Regions from separate parts of the Homo sapiens genome. Here region 2 is linked to region 1. The links are contacts of gene promoters, found by promoter capture Hi-C in blood cells and fetal thymus (Javierre and others, 2016). All regions are on one chromosome and are shown on one strand. Each heading gives the region's core, a stretch centred on a gene start or on the middle of the fragment in contact. The rest is flanking DNA. Distances are from core to core; before and after follow the strand shown.

Region 1 (7,145 bases), core at 3,310-5,809:
TTATCAAAGAGGCAAGACCTGGGCACTGGCTAGGAGTCTGGGAGTAGTAGCTGTGGGTGGGGCCCTAATCAGGCTGCCCCATCCCTGGAAGCAGGAGCGGCTGAGCCTGCAGGCTAAGCAATTGGATAGGTCTGCAGATGCCACCCTCCAAAGCATGCCTCACCTGGGACCCTATAGTGTGGGCTCCTAGAGAGGGAGCTCCCTCCGTAACACCCCTTGACCTTGGACCCCTTAGCCTCCTCCCCCAGTTCACACACAGAATGTGCTGCCATTCACGGGGCACTCAATGTGTGTTTGGCACTCTGCTGGCATCAACCCGTCTGACCTCTGGAGTGACCCACAGTGGGTGAGTGGCAGAGCCCCACCATCTCATTCCTCTTTTCACTGGCTTCCTGCGCCCTCCGGCCTGGGCATTCTGGGTGGGGGAGGGAGCCCCAGCCAGGCCTGAAGGCAACACCCCAGATCAGTAATCCAAAGGCATGTCCCCCTGTGTCTTCTCCCACCCCAGTGGCCTTCATTGAGCTACTGATTTCTTAGTTGAGCCCCCAGTGCCCTCTGAAGGCTGTTAGAAGGGACAGTCATATGAAAACTGTTCCTTGCCAAACTATCATCTAGGGTCAGCTAGAGCCCCACGCCCCCTCCCCAAAGCTCTGAGTAAGAGGCTTTTCTTAGAATTCAGTACCAGGAAATAAATGCTTTGTCTCTCTCCTGAGGATCTGCTAGACTCCCTTTCTTTTGCAGCAAAAACTATAATCAATCCTCTTTCTGTTTTTTCCTAGCCTACCAGGGAACTCAGAACTAAGTAAGATCACTCTTCTCATGAAAGGTCTGGCTTCCTTCATCCTCTTTGCCTTTTAATTTTCCATTTGAAACTTAAGTTCCTTTGAGGGCTTTTATTGTATTTGTGGGGAGGGGAGAAGGAGGAGGAAGGAACCAGTTATTAATACTTCCTTACACAAGAAACTCTAGTAGGTTTCTTCCTCGCCCCATTCCACCACTCTACCCAGTCGTAAGGCCCAGTCATAAGGACGAAAATCCCTTCAATGAACAGCACTCCTGTCTAGGAATTTATCATGAAAGAATCTGGACTCTAATCCCAGGGCAAAGAGGCCTTGGAAGGAGCTGCCACGAATTCCCACTGGCCTCTTACTGGCCCAAGATGGTTGGACCTTGAAGTCATAGGTGAACTGGAGAGAGAGAGAGAGACCTTCAGGCTGGACCAGGCTGCTTCTGGCCCTCCCCAGCTCATCAAGCCTCTATTTGCCCATCTGAGAGATGGGTTATTGAGAAGAATAAATGAGCGGCTTGTGACTTTAGCAAGGGGTTTGGCACTTGTAAATTTTAGCTCCCTTCTCTCTCCCTGCTAGGCTTGGCCAGATCACACAGCGAGGAGGGCTTGGCAGGTCAGTGATGGGGCAGAGAGTGAAAACAAACCTGATCTGTAGCACCACAAGGAAGGGAAGGAAGGGAAGGAAAGAAATTAGCATTTCCTGAGCATCTGCTGTGTGCCAGATCTATCGACCTTACTTGGTTTTTTCATTTTTCCCCTCTATGACCTAAGAGGGTAGGTCTTATTGCTCTCACTTTATACATAAGGAGACTGAAGATCAGCCCAAGGCTTCACAGCTGGTGAGAGGAGGAACCTTTCTTACCCACCATAGCATGCTTCCTGAGACTGCCCAACACAAGGTTAGGACCCTAAGGGGCCAGGGGCCAGGTGCCAGGCTTTGGCAGGGGCCACTTACCGGTTCGGTCATCGCTGTCATTGAAGTCTACCTGGACAGAGTGGCCATTGTTGGTGATGCTGAGGGACATGCAGGCCTCATAGGAAAGCTCCAGTGGTTGCAGGCTGGGAGAGTACACAGCCTGGCTGGAGATGATATTGATGGGTGATTGGCGATCTCCCTGGGCAATGGGATACAGCTTGTGCCAATGCGAGGGGCCTGCAGGTGGGGAGGAGGGCAAGGACTCAGGCCAGCCAGGATCTCTGGGCTTCAGGCCGAGGACACCCATAGGGGAATGGTCTCTTCAGCATCCTTTCAGAGGTGAGCCCCTGCATTGGAGCTGCACAGCTTGGAGTTCCAATCCCAGCTTTGCCATTTCCCCTTTCAGCCTCCATTTCTTTGTCTGTGAAATGGTCTCACTAAAACTCACCTTCCAGTGCTGATAGGAGGCCCAGAGAGGTACTGTATGGAAGGGAACATAACAGCTACAGGCTCGGGGTGGCTCAGAGTAATAAGTCTCCCCAACAGGGAGACCTCCAGACATCTGAAGTCTCTGACCTGACCCCATCAGTATCTCACCTCTTTCTGTGCCTTGGGCAATTTGGTGTTGGTGTTTGTGATAAATAACAACAAAAACTCACATCAACCTAGCTTTGACTCTGTGACATGTATTTGCCTCTCACAACCACCTTGTGAAATAGAAACCAGCAAGATCCCCATTTCACAGATGAGGGAACTGAGGGCCACTCACACATGTGTGCATGCATATGTACTAATATAAATACAGCATGTGCATGCACTGCCCCCAGCTGCCCTCCCAATGTGTGTGCCTGCAAGTCCATAGAGATCTTCCTATGAACACATTAATCTTTCTATGATCTTCCATTGTGCACACAGAGCAGCCAGGCCCAGAACATTCATGTGTACAAACACACACACAGCCCTGCAGACTACATCTGACACACGCATATGCTCTCTCACACACAAACCCCTCTGTTGGAGACCCAAGTTTGCATAAAGGACCACAGCAAAACACATGCCCATGCACACACACACACACACACACACACACACCTGCATACACACCCACAGGCGCCCACCACCTGCCTCCCAGAGGATCCATCTGCAGCCGAGAGGCTCAGCATCTCCCTGGGGAACATCCTGAGATGCAGCCTATTTTTAGAGCTACTGCCGGCTGGTGCTTCTCCCCCTTTTTGGCTTCTTAAGTTTTCCTGAGAAAACAGCAGCAGGTGCCGACAGAGCCGTGTCCCCAATGGATGACTCAGAATCGTGGCCCGGCCCCTCTGGGTTATTTTTGAAGCCCTGTGAACACTGCTGCATGCCGGCACCTCTGTCCTCTGTCCTTCCCTTCCTCGACTGGACAATCCAGCTCTGCCTGGGTGATGGGGTGGCTGCTTTGGGGGAGCAGGCCCATGGAGCAGGCTACACAGGACACTGGGTGCTCAGAGCTGGTGGGCATGACTAGCAAGAAGAGCTGGAGGCAGGGGACTCTGGCTCTGGGGGAAGCACCCAAAAGGTGGCTCAGAGCAGGTGCTGGGAGAAGATGATCCCTATGGGTCCTGTCCATCTGCCCCATGTCTGCCTGTCTCTCCCTCTCTGCTTGTCTATATCATCTTTTTCTGAATGTCTCTTTCCAGCTCTTGCATACCCAGATCTGGGGGTTCTCTTCCAAAATATGCTCCTTTGTTCTTGGGGCCCCAGAGGGAGCCAAAGACTCCACAGCACCCTCCCTCTGGTCTACTGCAACTTTCTGGCTTCCCAGACTGTGGTCCCCCACCCAACCTCACAAAGTGACTGCCTCTCCGCAGAGGAGTGGGGCTGGGGGATGTTCCTCCCATCATTACTTTTTCTTCTCCGCACCCCACCTGTCTTGCACTGGCTCCCCAGGGAAATAGGGAACCCCTTACCCCACACCCCCACCCCTGCTTGGTAAGAAATGGCCCCAAAGGGAATTGACTGCCCCAGACCCACACTCCAGCCGTCTGGCTCTCACCTTCTGCCTCTTCTCCCTTTCTCTGAGTCCTAAGGAAACTGAGGCAGGATGAAGGAGCTCTCTTCCGCGTCAGCCCAGGAGGCTGGTGTGGGCCACGGGCTCCCACGACTCACACCCGGACGTGCGCAAACACCCTGCTCGGTGTAGACACCCAGACACATGCTTGCGCCCCCAAGTGCCCCCTTCCCTCACGTACCGGCCGAGAAGGCAGCTCGGCCACTTCTGCGGGGAAATTCTCTCCGGGGGACACTGCGCCCTTGCCACGCGGAGCCCCGCTCCCCCGAGGTCCCCGCTCACTTGCCGTGCGCGCTCCCCGCAGACACCCGCGCACAGCGCTCCGCGGCGCCCGCCCCCCGCTGCCCTGGGCCACCCCCACGCGCTGCGCACGCCCGGGGCGAGTGAGTGAGAGTCTGGGCCTGGGTCTGAGCGGGCTGGGCAATCAGGGGCTTCGCGGAGGAGGCGGCAGGACACAGCCGCCAGGTCGCTTGCTGGCGGCGGGGCCACCCGGGGCGCAGCGCGGACTTTGCGTCTGGCGCGGGGGACCAAGGCTTGGGCCAAGTTCGGGGGCCGGGATGGGAAGAGGGGTCCCGCCCAGCCTGGAGTGTGGGAGCTTTCCGGTCTGGGAAACCAGCTGGGCAAGAGGGTTGGGGCGAGTGCAGTTGGGTCGGGGGTCCGAGCCAGAGGCGGTGGGGGAGGTCTGTGCCTACCGTCGTCCTGGCCGTAGCCCCAGCCGTGGTGGCCGGTCATGCCGCTGCCGTCCCCGCAGCCGTGCACCTGCCCGGTCGGCTCGGTCCGCTCGTTCGGGCTGCGGCTCCGGCCCCGCTCGCTACCGCGGAGCAGCCTCTTAAAGCAGCGGCTGGCGGGAGGAGCAGTTCCCGGGGGACCCGCCCCCCACCCCCCAGCAGGGCCAGAGAGGCCGGCCTGCCCCGCCCTCGCCCGCCGGCGAGCCAGTTGAACCCCGAGCGGAGATTCAGGGCAGGAGGAAGTAACCCTCTCCCCCCAACTCCCACCCCTGCCCTGGCTGGGCGACTATCCCTCTTTTTCCCCCAGCAACCCGTGCGGACTCTGGGACACTAGATGCCCGTGCCGCACATGGCGTCCCTTCCCTAGGCTTGCCCCAGACCTGCAAATGCCACCACCAGAGACCTGAGCTCTGGGTCCTGAATCTTTTGGGGTTGGAAAGTCCCCTTTAAACTGCAAACTACACTGACCATCAAGTGTCCAAAACTGGAGCTTCCACTGTTTGCCAGAGGCTGTTGCAGGCGCTGGACCAAGCTTTGGGTCCTTCCTATGGTATAACCCTCTCTGTTACCCTACAAGGTTGGGTGCTTCCATCAGCCCTATCTGACAGAGGAGGGGAGTGAGGCCCAGAGAAGTGAAGTGACTTGCCCAAGGTCATCTAGCCAGGGGGTAAAGGGTTCATTAGCTGGGGTTCTTACTCCAGACACTGGGGGTTTTGTGGGATTTGTTTGTTTGTTTGTTTGTTTGCTTGTTTGTTTTTAGACAGAGTCTTGCTCTGTCACCCAGGCTGGTGCTATATCAGCTCACTGCAACCTCCACCTCCTTGATTCAAGTGATTCTTCTGCTTCAGCCTTCCAAGTAGCTGGGATTACAGGTGTGTGCCACCACATCCAGCTAATTTTTGTGTTTTTTGTAGAGATGGGGGTTTCACCATGTTGCCTGGGCTGGTCTTGAACTTCTGGCCTCAAGTAATCCACCCGCCTTGGCCTCCCAAAGTGTTGGGATTAGAGGAGTGAGCCACCACTCCTGGCCTGACACTGGGGTCTTTACCATTTCTCCTTGGTGCTGGGTACAAGGGTGTGCTGTGAGTGTGGGGGTCCGGGAACCCTGGGGTAGATGCAGGGACAGGAATGGCAATGTGAACCCTTGGCCCAGGTGGAACCAGATCCCCCAAGGGGGAGTGAGAAGGAGTGGCATCAACCAATGGGCCTGAAGACAGGCAGACACCAGGTGGCTTCCCCATGGAGCTAAGTCTGAGGCTCTGACTTCCACCCTCCCTGTTATTTTGTCTACTGCTTCCTCCTTTCTTCAGGGACTCTGCTTTGTCCCTCCATAGCCTGCTGTTTGTCCCTCCTCTCCTGACCTCCCCATAACCTTCAGTACACCCCCTGGGAGCTCAGACCCTCCACCCTGCACTCAACCCCAGTGCCTGCCTTGGCCCAGTATTTTCCCACCCACGAGCCCTGGTCGTTGTTGTGCCCTCCACCTGGTGCGTCCTCTGTCTTCCACCCACTGGCTCCAGCCGGCCCAATCTGATTCATCTTAGCACGTGGCCTTGTGCCAGGGAGAGGGCTTGTCTCTGGCTAGTCCTCAGCAGGCAGTTTTGGAAAGACAAACAGAGGGGTGGATGGAAGGACAGATAAATGATCCCACCCGGGGTCCTGTACTCAGCAGGAGTCGAACAGCCACTAGTACAATGTCTGCTGTCCAGATCTTGAATAGAGACACTCTTTCAGGCCCTGCTCTTGGCTGACCTTGTACAGGAATCTGCCATCTTGTCTGCCTGGCTCCCCTTCATCTCTGTGTCTGTCTCAGTTTCCCTCTCCCAGGCCCTGAACCCCAGATCCTCAGATAGAGCTATGGAGATTAATTGATAACTGGTTGGGTGGGCCAATGTCAGTGACTGCCCAGGCCTGCGAAGATGGCCCTCTCTGATCCAGGAGCAGGAAGGGATCCTTAATATAAATATGACCCTAGGGTGGGGCAGGGGACTTATGACAGAGATAAGTAGCCCCCAAGACCAGATGTGACAGAGAATCCAACACTGTCAAGGCCCCAGGTCTCCAAGCTGGAAATGGCATCTACAGATCAAGAAGACAAAGGCATGCTTCTGGGTGAGGCCTGGACCTTCTGTCTCCCAGAGAAGCCAGCCACCCTTTACCTGGGAGAGCTGCCAACATCCTTTACCTGGGAGAGAGCTCTGGGGATAGCCCAAACTCCATTGACCCATTTCCTCTTCAGAGGGACTCAGGTCTTTTTCATATTTATTTGTAGTTCTTAAAAGATACAACTGGGCCTGGCACAGTAGCTCATGCCTGTAATCCCAGCACTTTGGGAGGCTGAGGCGGGCGGATTACCTGAGCTCAGAAGTTGAAGACCATCCTGGGCAACATGGTGACATCCCGTCTCCACTAAAATACAAAAAATTAGCCAGGCATGGTGGCAGGTGCCTGTAGTCCCAGCTACTCGGGAGGCTGAGGCATGAGAATTGCTTGAGTCCAGGAGGCGGAGGTTGCAGCGAGCCAAGATTGCACCACTGCACTCCAGCTTGGGCTACAGAGTGAGATTCTGTGTCAAAAAAAAAAAAGATACAATTGGAATTCTTCATATAGTTTTGCATCCAACTTCATCTACATAGTAACCCTGGGGGGATTTTTACCCCATTT
Region 2 (7,145 bases), core at 1,618-4,117, 260 kb after region 1:
CACTTTGGGAGGCCAAGGCAGGCAGATCACCTGAGGTCAGGAGTTCAAGACCAGCTAGGCCAACATGGCAAAACGCTGTCTCTAGTCAAAATTACAAAATTAGCCGGGCTTAGTGGCGCATGTCTGTAATCCTAGCTACTCAGGAGGCTGAGGCAGGAGAATGCTTGAACCAGGAGGTGGAAGTTGCAGTGAGCTGAGATTGTGCCACTGCACTCTAGCCTGGGTGACAAGAGCAAAACTCTGTCTCAAAACAAACAAACAAAAGACACTTATTTGATCAGGGCCCCAATGTTCTGACCTCATTTAACCTTAACTACCTCCTTAGAGGCCCATCTTCAAGTACAGTACAGTGGGGGTTAGGGCCTCAACGTATGATTTTGCAGAGTGGGAGACACAAACATTCAATCTGTAACAATTTTGTTAGTCTTCTTGTCAATCCCTGAGCTAGTACCAAAGCTTTATGGTAAATCTGATATCTTGTTGGGTGAGTCCATCCTTGTTAGTATTTTTTCTTCTTTGATAAGAATTTTAGAATCACCTTGTAAAAGTGCCATGAAAAACCCATGTTAGGTTGAAATTTTATTTAATTTATAGATTAATTCAGAATTGAATTGACATCTCTATGATAAGTTTTCATATTTGTGAATGTGGAATGTTTCTCTATTTACATTTTCCTTTGATGTCCATTACTAAAGTCTTATAATCTCTATGTAGTGTCTTACACATCTTTCAGTAGGTTTATTCTTAGACACCTTGTAGTTTGTGTTGCTGTTTTAAGTGATTTCTTTTAAAGAGCATTTTTTTTTTTTTGAGACAGTCTCGCTCTGTCACCCAGGCTGGAGTGCAGTGGCTCCATCTCGGCTCATGGCAACCTCTGCCTCCTGGGTTCTAGCGATTTTCATGCCTCAGCCTCTCGAGTAGCTGGGATTACAGGCATGCACCTCCATGCCTGGTTAATTTTTGTATTTTTAGTAGAGCTGGTGTTTCACCATGTTGGCCAGGCTGGTCTGGAACTCCTGGCCTCAAGTGGTCCACCCACCTCGGCCTCCCAAAGTGCTGGGAGTACAGCTGTGAGCCCCCGTGCCCAGCCAAAAAAATCCTATGTTTCTCATTGTTCATTGTTGGTATTCAGGAACACTACTGCTTTTGTGTCTGGTAACCTTGTGGAACTCAATCAGTTCTAGTGATTTGACTGTAGATTCTCTTAGATTTTCTGTGTAGATAATTCTATTAGATTTTTCCTCTTGTCAATCTCTATACCTTTTGTTTTTCTTGTCATATTGAACTAAGGTCTCTATCACAATGTTGAATACAAGAGAAGCTAGTAAGCATCTCTAAGGAAATGCTCCTGAAGTGTCACCTAAAATACAATTTGTGCAGGTTTGGATAGATGTCTATTTTATTTTATTTTATTTATTTATTTTTTGAGATGGAGTCTCACTCTGTCGCCCAGGCTGGAGTGCAGTGGCACGATCTCGGCTCACTGCAAGCTCTGCCTCCCGGGTTCATGCCATTCTCCTGCCTCAGCCTCCTGAGAAGCTGGGACTACAGGCACACATCACTGTGCCTGGCTTCTTGACACCTCTTTTATTATTTTTTAGACAGGGTCTCACTCTGTCACTCAGATTGGAGTGCAGTGGCACCATCAGAGCTCTCTGTAGCCTTGACCTCCTGGGTTCAAGCCATCCTCCCACCTCAGCCTCCTGAGTAGCTGGAACAACAGGCATGTGCCACCATGCTTGGCTAATTTTTAAATTTTTTTGTAGAGACAGGGTCTCCCTATGTTGTCCAGTCTGGTCTCAAACTCCTGGACCAAAGGGACCCATCCACCTCAGCCTCCCAACGTGCTGGGATTACAGGTGTGAGCCACCACACCCAGCCCAACAACCACTGATGGATGTTCTCACTCATTGTTCTGTCTCAATCTCTTATTTTCTCTCTCTCTGTGTGCTGTGTTCTGGGTAATTTCCCCATACCTTTCAGTTAACAGTTCCCTCCTTCAGCTATGTCTGATCTGTTTTTGAATTCATCTATTGACATTTTTATTTCAATAACTATATTTTCTATTCTAGACACTGTACTTTTTAAAAATCTGTCTATTTTGTCCTCATAGTGTCTTACTCTTTTCTCAGGACTCTTATGTCTATAATCCCTTAAAATATATTATTATTTTCAGACAGCTCTTCTATTATCTCATATTCTCAGGATTCTAATCCATTTGTTGTGTTTGTTGATTCTTAGTAATGGGGATTTTTTAAAATCAGGTGTTTAGTAGTTTTGAATTATTAGTTCATTTTTGACAAGGTTTTCCCCCCACCCCCACTGTGAGAATCTCTTCATGCCTTGATTGTGATTTTGCATTTGTTTCTATCAGGAGTCCAAGGATATCAGCAGAATGTCATCAGACTGGGATCAGTTTTTATGGTAATTCCCAGGGATGAAGGTTTCTGGGCTGCATGAAGGTTTCTAGGCTGCAGATAACAAAAATTCAAACTCCAATCTGTACAAAGGGCAGGCTTAAGCTTTCTATTTCTCAAGGAAGACTTCCTCTCCGCCCACTCAAAGCTCAGGCAGAGATGAACATGTTTTCTTATTCCTCTGTGTTGGGAATAAGAAGGGTATGTGTCTTTGTCCATCTTTTCCCTAAGGAGGTAGTCTTTCCAGGGCGCTGGCTTTATACAGGGTTTTCAGTTCTAAATTCCCACTTTGCTTAGGATCAAGGCCTTATTTCCTGACTTGAGAGTGCATGAAAATCCAGGCTGTAGGTTCCTGAGACAATACCTCTTGGACCATTCCCACTCATACTTTGTAGCTTATGTGATCACTGCCCTGTTTGCCATTTCTGGCGCCTGTGTGTTTTCATTTCTTTTTTGCCAGCTCATTCATTCAGTTAAAGCAATACTGGTTACATTTCCCCTGGTATTTTTAGGTAAGCACAGTGGGAAGATGTTCAGGGTTCATTGGTTTTTCATCTTGCTGGAACTAAAAATGTCTTCTCAGGCTCCTTGTTTAGGAACTTGTCCTCTGCCTGTCCTTTTACCTTGTCCTCTGCTTGTCCCTTTTCTGAGAGTCCTTATTTGGCCCTCCTGTCCTTTCTCCCTGTATCGGAGGTCCTCATCTGCTTCACCAAGACCTCTGGATCCCTGGACCCTAATAGTTTTTAACAAGAAGGCAGGATGAAATGTACTCATAAAGCTAAGTTTGAAGCTTTTTTCTGCTACTTACCAGCTGAGTGACCTGGGGGCAAGTTACTTGGCCATTCTAGGCCAATTTCCTCATGTGTAACGTGAGTGAAACAGTGAACAAGAGGGCTCTGGAGGCAGGCTGTGAATGTGCAATGAACAAAGGGACTTGGGAATTGGGGTCTTCATTGACTGGCAAGGGGTTAGGTGGTTGTGCCCTGTGGTTAAACAGGTGATGGGCAGGGATTCAATTCCATGAGTCCTCAGGCACGGTGTCAAGCAATTTACATTTAATCCTCAGGATTGAATGTCAGTTCTGCAAGGAATGTGACTGTCTCATGTTACAGATGAGGAAACAGGCTGGGAATGGTTTAGTAACTTGCCCAGTTCTGTCTCTTTCCACTAGATGACTGCTTTGGGCTGAACATCCTTCTGATCCAAACATCCTTTATAGGGATATTCACTGGAGACCTAACGCTGCTTTAGAAGTGATTTTTAAAAAAAATTCCCATTTTGTTTTATTTTATTGACTTATGGGAGAGTAATTTTCTTCTTTGAATTTTGGGAATGGGGTCCTTCTGGGGTGATCTCCTGTCAAGTGTGAGCTGGCACAGGAGTTCGGAGGAACAGCTGGTTGCTACACCTCCCCTTCCCCTAAAGAGAACAAAGGCTCAGGCCCTCTTTGACCACCAGGTAAGTAAGAGTTCCCCACTCTCACTCCAACACACAGATAGGCTTTTTGGAGCATTTTCTGCCTAGCTACCCCTCTTGCACCCAGCTGCCTCTGCCTGGGCCCCACTGATGTTCTGAGTCCCTGACCCAGGCACAGATATGGGAGGTGAGGTGTGTCTCTCTGTTTGGTGACTTTCCAGGTGCCAAGACACACCTGATCAGCATTCTGGATGCAGGCACTCCCCATCACCCCTTACTTACAGAAATGGGCCACAGGATGAAGGGTATGTATCTATGAATGGCAAAGCTGTACAGTAAGATGAAGAAGCTGAAGAAGGATATCTCCATGGTGATGATAAGCCTCAAGATGGGGTGCACGGTGAGTGAGGACAACAGTATCATTGCAGCTATTAGGCAGCCCTGCAGTGAGACATAGACACCTGAGCCAGCAGCAAGGGCCTTTCACCATCTCTCTGAGGACCCCTGGAGCCTACTCCTCCTTCCCCCCACCCTCGGCCAAGGCCCCCCACCCAGGGATACCAGTTTAGCTCACCAAACTCCGAATCTTGATCTCAGCGTGCCCCAAGAGCCAGAACTCTTTATTGCTGTCTTTTAATTCCCACCGGTAGCGGCGACACCCCCTCCTCGTGCCCACTTCGTGCTTGGGCTGCACCGCCTTTTGAGGTTTGTCCGATGGCTCCTTATGGTCCTGCACCGCCTTTTGAGGTTTGTCCGATGGCTCCTTACCGTCCTTCTTGTCTTCCTCGGGTTTGGCCCCGGGTGGAGGTGGAGCTGGTGCTGGCTCTGGCTTGGCCCCCTTTGCCGCCTTAGGTGCCATGACTGACTCGGTGTCCTTGGCTTCTCACAGCTGGCCTGTTTCTTCTCTCTCCTGCTGTTTCTGGGTAGGCCAGGCCTACTAGAGTGCCTGGTGTCCACCGAGCGGCTCAGAGGGCGTGCTCAGCTAACTGCCAGGACCACCGAATGCCAACTCCCGCGCCCTCTCCACGCGCGCCCGTCTCCTCGCGCAGCTCCCATCCGCCCGGCAGCGGCCGGATCCTCCCACCCTCCACGCGCCGGCCCCCGACGGGCCCCAACTCCGTTCCCAACCCGCCGGTCCCACCTCCGCGCGGAGCTGCCCTCGCGGTCCCATCCCGGCGTCTCCAGGTGGCCCCAGGTCTGTAAGCCGCCGCTCCGCTGCGGGGTCGGGGGGCTGCGAGCACCGGGTCACGGCCCTGAGCTCCGCGGGCGCAGCGCCAAGCGCAGGAAAATACAACGCGACTTTCACACAAGGCAACGAGAGGAAGCAGGTGTTCTCGATAAAAGCAGCAGCCCTAATTTTATGGTCACATTTAGGCTGGAATGGGTGACAGCATGCGAGCTCGGGGGTGGGCTCGGAGGCAGCGATTCGACAGACACGTGCATCTGCTAGGGCGCCGGGCTGGCTTCAGGCGGGCCTCTGCGGGGCGTCGGGGCCGGTTTCGGGGTAGGCGTCCTTGGCGGGGGAAAGCTTCCTTTCAACTTCGACTCCCAGGAATCTTTTCAAGTTGGTCCTCATCTTCGTGGTGACCACAAACGCATCGATGCAACACACGATTACCGCTGTGAGACACAGGGACTGTCAGATACAAGACCATATGCGGGAAGGAAAGACGGGGTTATTTTGCAGCTCAGTAGCAACCTCTCGAACCTATCCCTATCCAGGGTGGGCGCTGCGGGTGGCCTCCTGTCCCCTCTGACCCTTCACTACTTTCTTGGCGCCTGCCCAATTGGCTGCTGCAGGCGGATTCTGCCTTTCCCAGAAAAAGGGATTTTGGAAGTGGGGGATTTTGTTGCCAGTAGTAGCCTCGCTTGATGTCTGAGGCACCCGGAAAGGACTAGGGAAGGGCAGTGGCCCTAGGTGGCTGCAGGTAGGGGTTAGGTCCTGAGAAGCCCTCTCCGTGGAAAGACTTTTGGGCTATGTTTGCAAAGGGCAGGAAGGAGTTCCTAAGGGGAGGAGGAGGACCCAGGCACTGGACTAGGGTCTCTAAGGAATCTGGTGTGGCCAGGACCTCCAGAGCCGCTGAGAAGGGGGCAGAGTTGAGGCTGGAGAGGTGCAGGATCTGGGACTCTATCAGGAGGTCAGGTGTGAGATTCAGAAAACCTGCTTGCAGTGTTCATGAGGTGAATGGAAGGTGAACCAGGCTGGAGGCAGGAAGACCAGTGCGTGGTGGGGTGGGATGCTGCCATCCAGGTAAGAAATGGATACCTGGGGGTGGGAACCCCTGGCAGTAGAAGGAGTGATAGCGGAGTCAGCCGATGGGGACCAGGGGCTGATGGCACAGATATTCCCCTGTGCACTCCGGGACTCTTGACAACCTTGGATGTTTCTCTTTATGGTCACTTAATTCCTGGCTGCTTAATGAGCTTTTCCTAGGTATGTCTTGCCCCAGTGAATCTGTGAGCTTCCCCAAAGGGGAAAGGGCTCTATCCCCAGCACTGAGCTCATGTCTGGCACAATCAATGGGATTGACAGATATTTATTGATTATAGAATGAATTCAAATGAACTCTTTTTCTGCATTAATTTCTGTTCTCATTGTTTAACTTCTTGAACCAAAGCCCTACCTCCCCTCCCAACCCCCTGAATCTTCCAAGCATTTGATCTGCCATTTCTTTTGAGTCCCAATTTGTCCCAGTCTTGTGGCCCAGAGCAAGGTATTTAACCTCAGTTCCTATATCTGTACAAATGAGAGTTGTAAAGATTAAGTCAGAGTGTGCCCTGCTTGGTGCAGGGCATATACTGGGCACTTCAACATGTGGCAGTTTCCTTCCTTCCTTTCTTCCTTCTTTCCTTCCTTCCTTCCTGAATAGGCTGGATTCCTCACTTTAGACAGTGCACTTTTCCCCCCTTACAATCTCTCTTATCATCTGTCTTTAAAATACAATTCTCTAGTCCAGAAAATCAAAGTCCTATTTATAGACAAAAAGATCTTGCTTAACATTTCAAAAATAGTGTCCACAATTCTCAAAAGGGGTTTAGCAGACTCTTGTTTTTGTACCTATTTGGAGAATGCATGTTAGAATTAAGATTTTCATGAGCTCAGAGTTTGTGCAACTTCATATCACCTGAAGAAGTCAGTGCAAGAAGGAGAGTGGGTGGCAGTGGGGATTTTGCTTGGTTAATGATATAATGGGGTCTGCCAATTTCCCTTTTCAAAGTCTTGGAATACTGATCTTAAATGGAGTCATGAAGGCCTCTACTTACCCCCCCGACATAGAGTAAATGCCTTCTTTTCTTTTCTTGCATGGCCAA

What was found. Contacts are between HindIII fragments. The CHiCAGO score rates a contact against its expected background, and 5 or more counts as called.
Region 2: a contact is called between a fragment that was not itself captured here and the fragment with the promoter of CA7 in region 1, in 1 of 17 cell types (endothelial precursors). The highest score is 6.1, in endothelial precursors.

Annotation. Positions count from the first base shown.
Region 1 is chr16:66,841,828-66,848,972 of GRCh38, reverse strand. CA7 (carbonic anhydrase 7) reads right to left here and starts at 4,559. Exons shown (of 7, transcript NM_005182.3): 1 at 4,446-4,559; 2 at 1,746-1,943. The coding sequence starts at 4,485. The region is part of intron 3 of LOC124903699 (a long non-coding RNA gene); the gene reads left to right. RefSeq lists an enhancer at 4,130-4,631. The HindIII fragment of the contact is 7,096 bases long and covers 1-5,015 here.
Region 2 is chr16:66,577,155-66,584,299 of GRCh38, reverse strand. It overlaps CMTM2 (CKLF like MARVEL transmembrane domain containing 2), which reads right to left and starts at 4,837. Exons shown (of 4, transcript NM_144673.3): 1 at 4,408-4,837; 2 at 4,116-4,274. The coding sequence starts at 4,692. It overlaps CKLF-CMTM1 (CKLF-CMTM1 readthrough), which reads right to left. Exons shown (of 4, transcript NM_001204099.2): 3 at 7,098-7,145; 4 at 5,165-5,469. The coding sequence ends at 5,299. It overlaps CMTM1 (CKLF like MARVEL transmembrane domain containing 1), which reads right to left. Exons shown (of 4, transcript NM_052999.4): 3 at 7,098-7,145; 4 at 5,165-5,469. The coding sequence ends at 5,299. The HindIII fragment of the contact is 685 bases long and covers 2,525-3,209 here.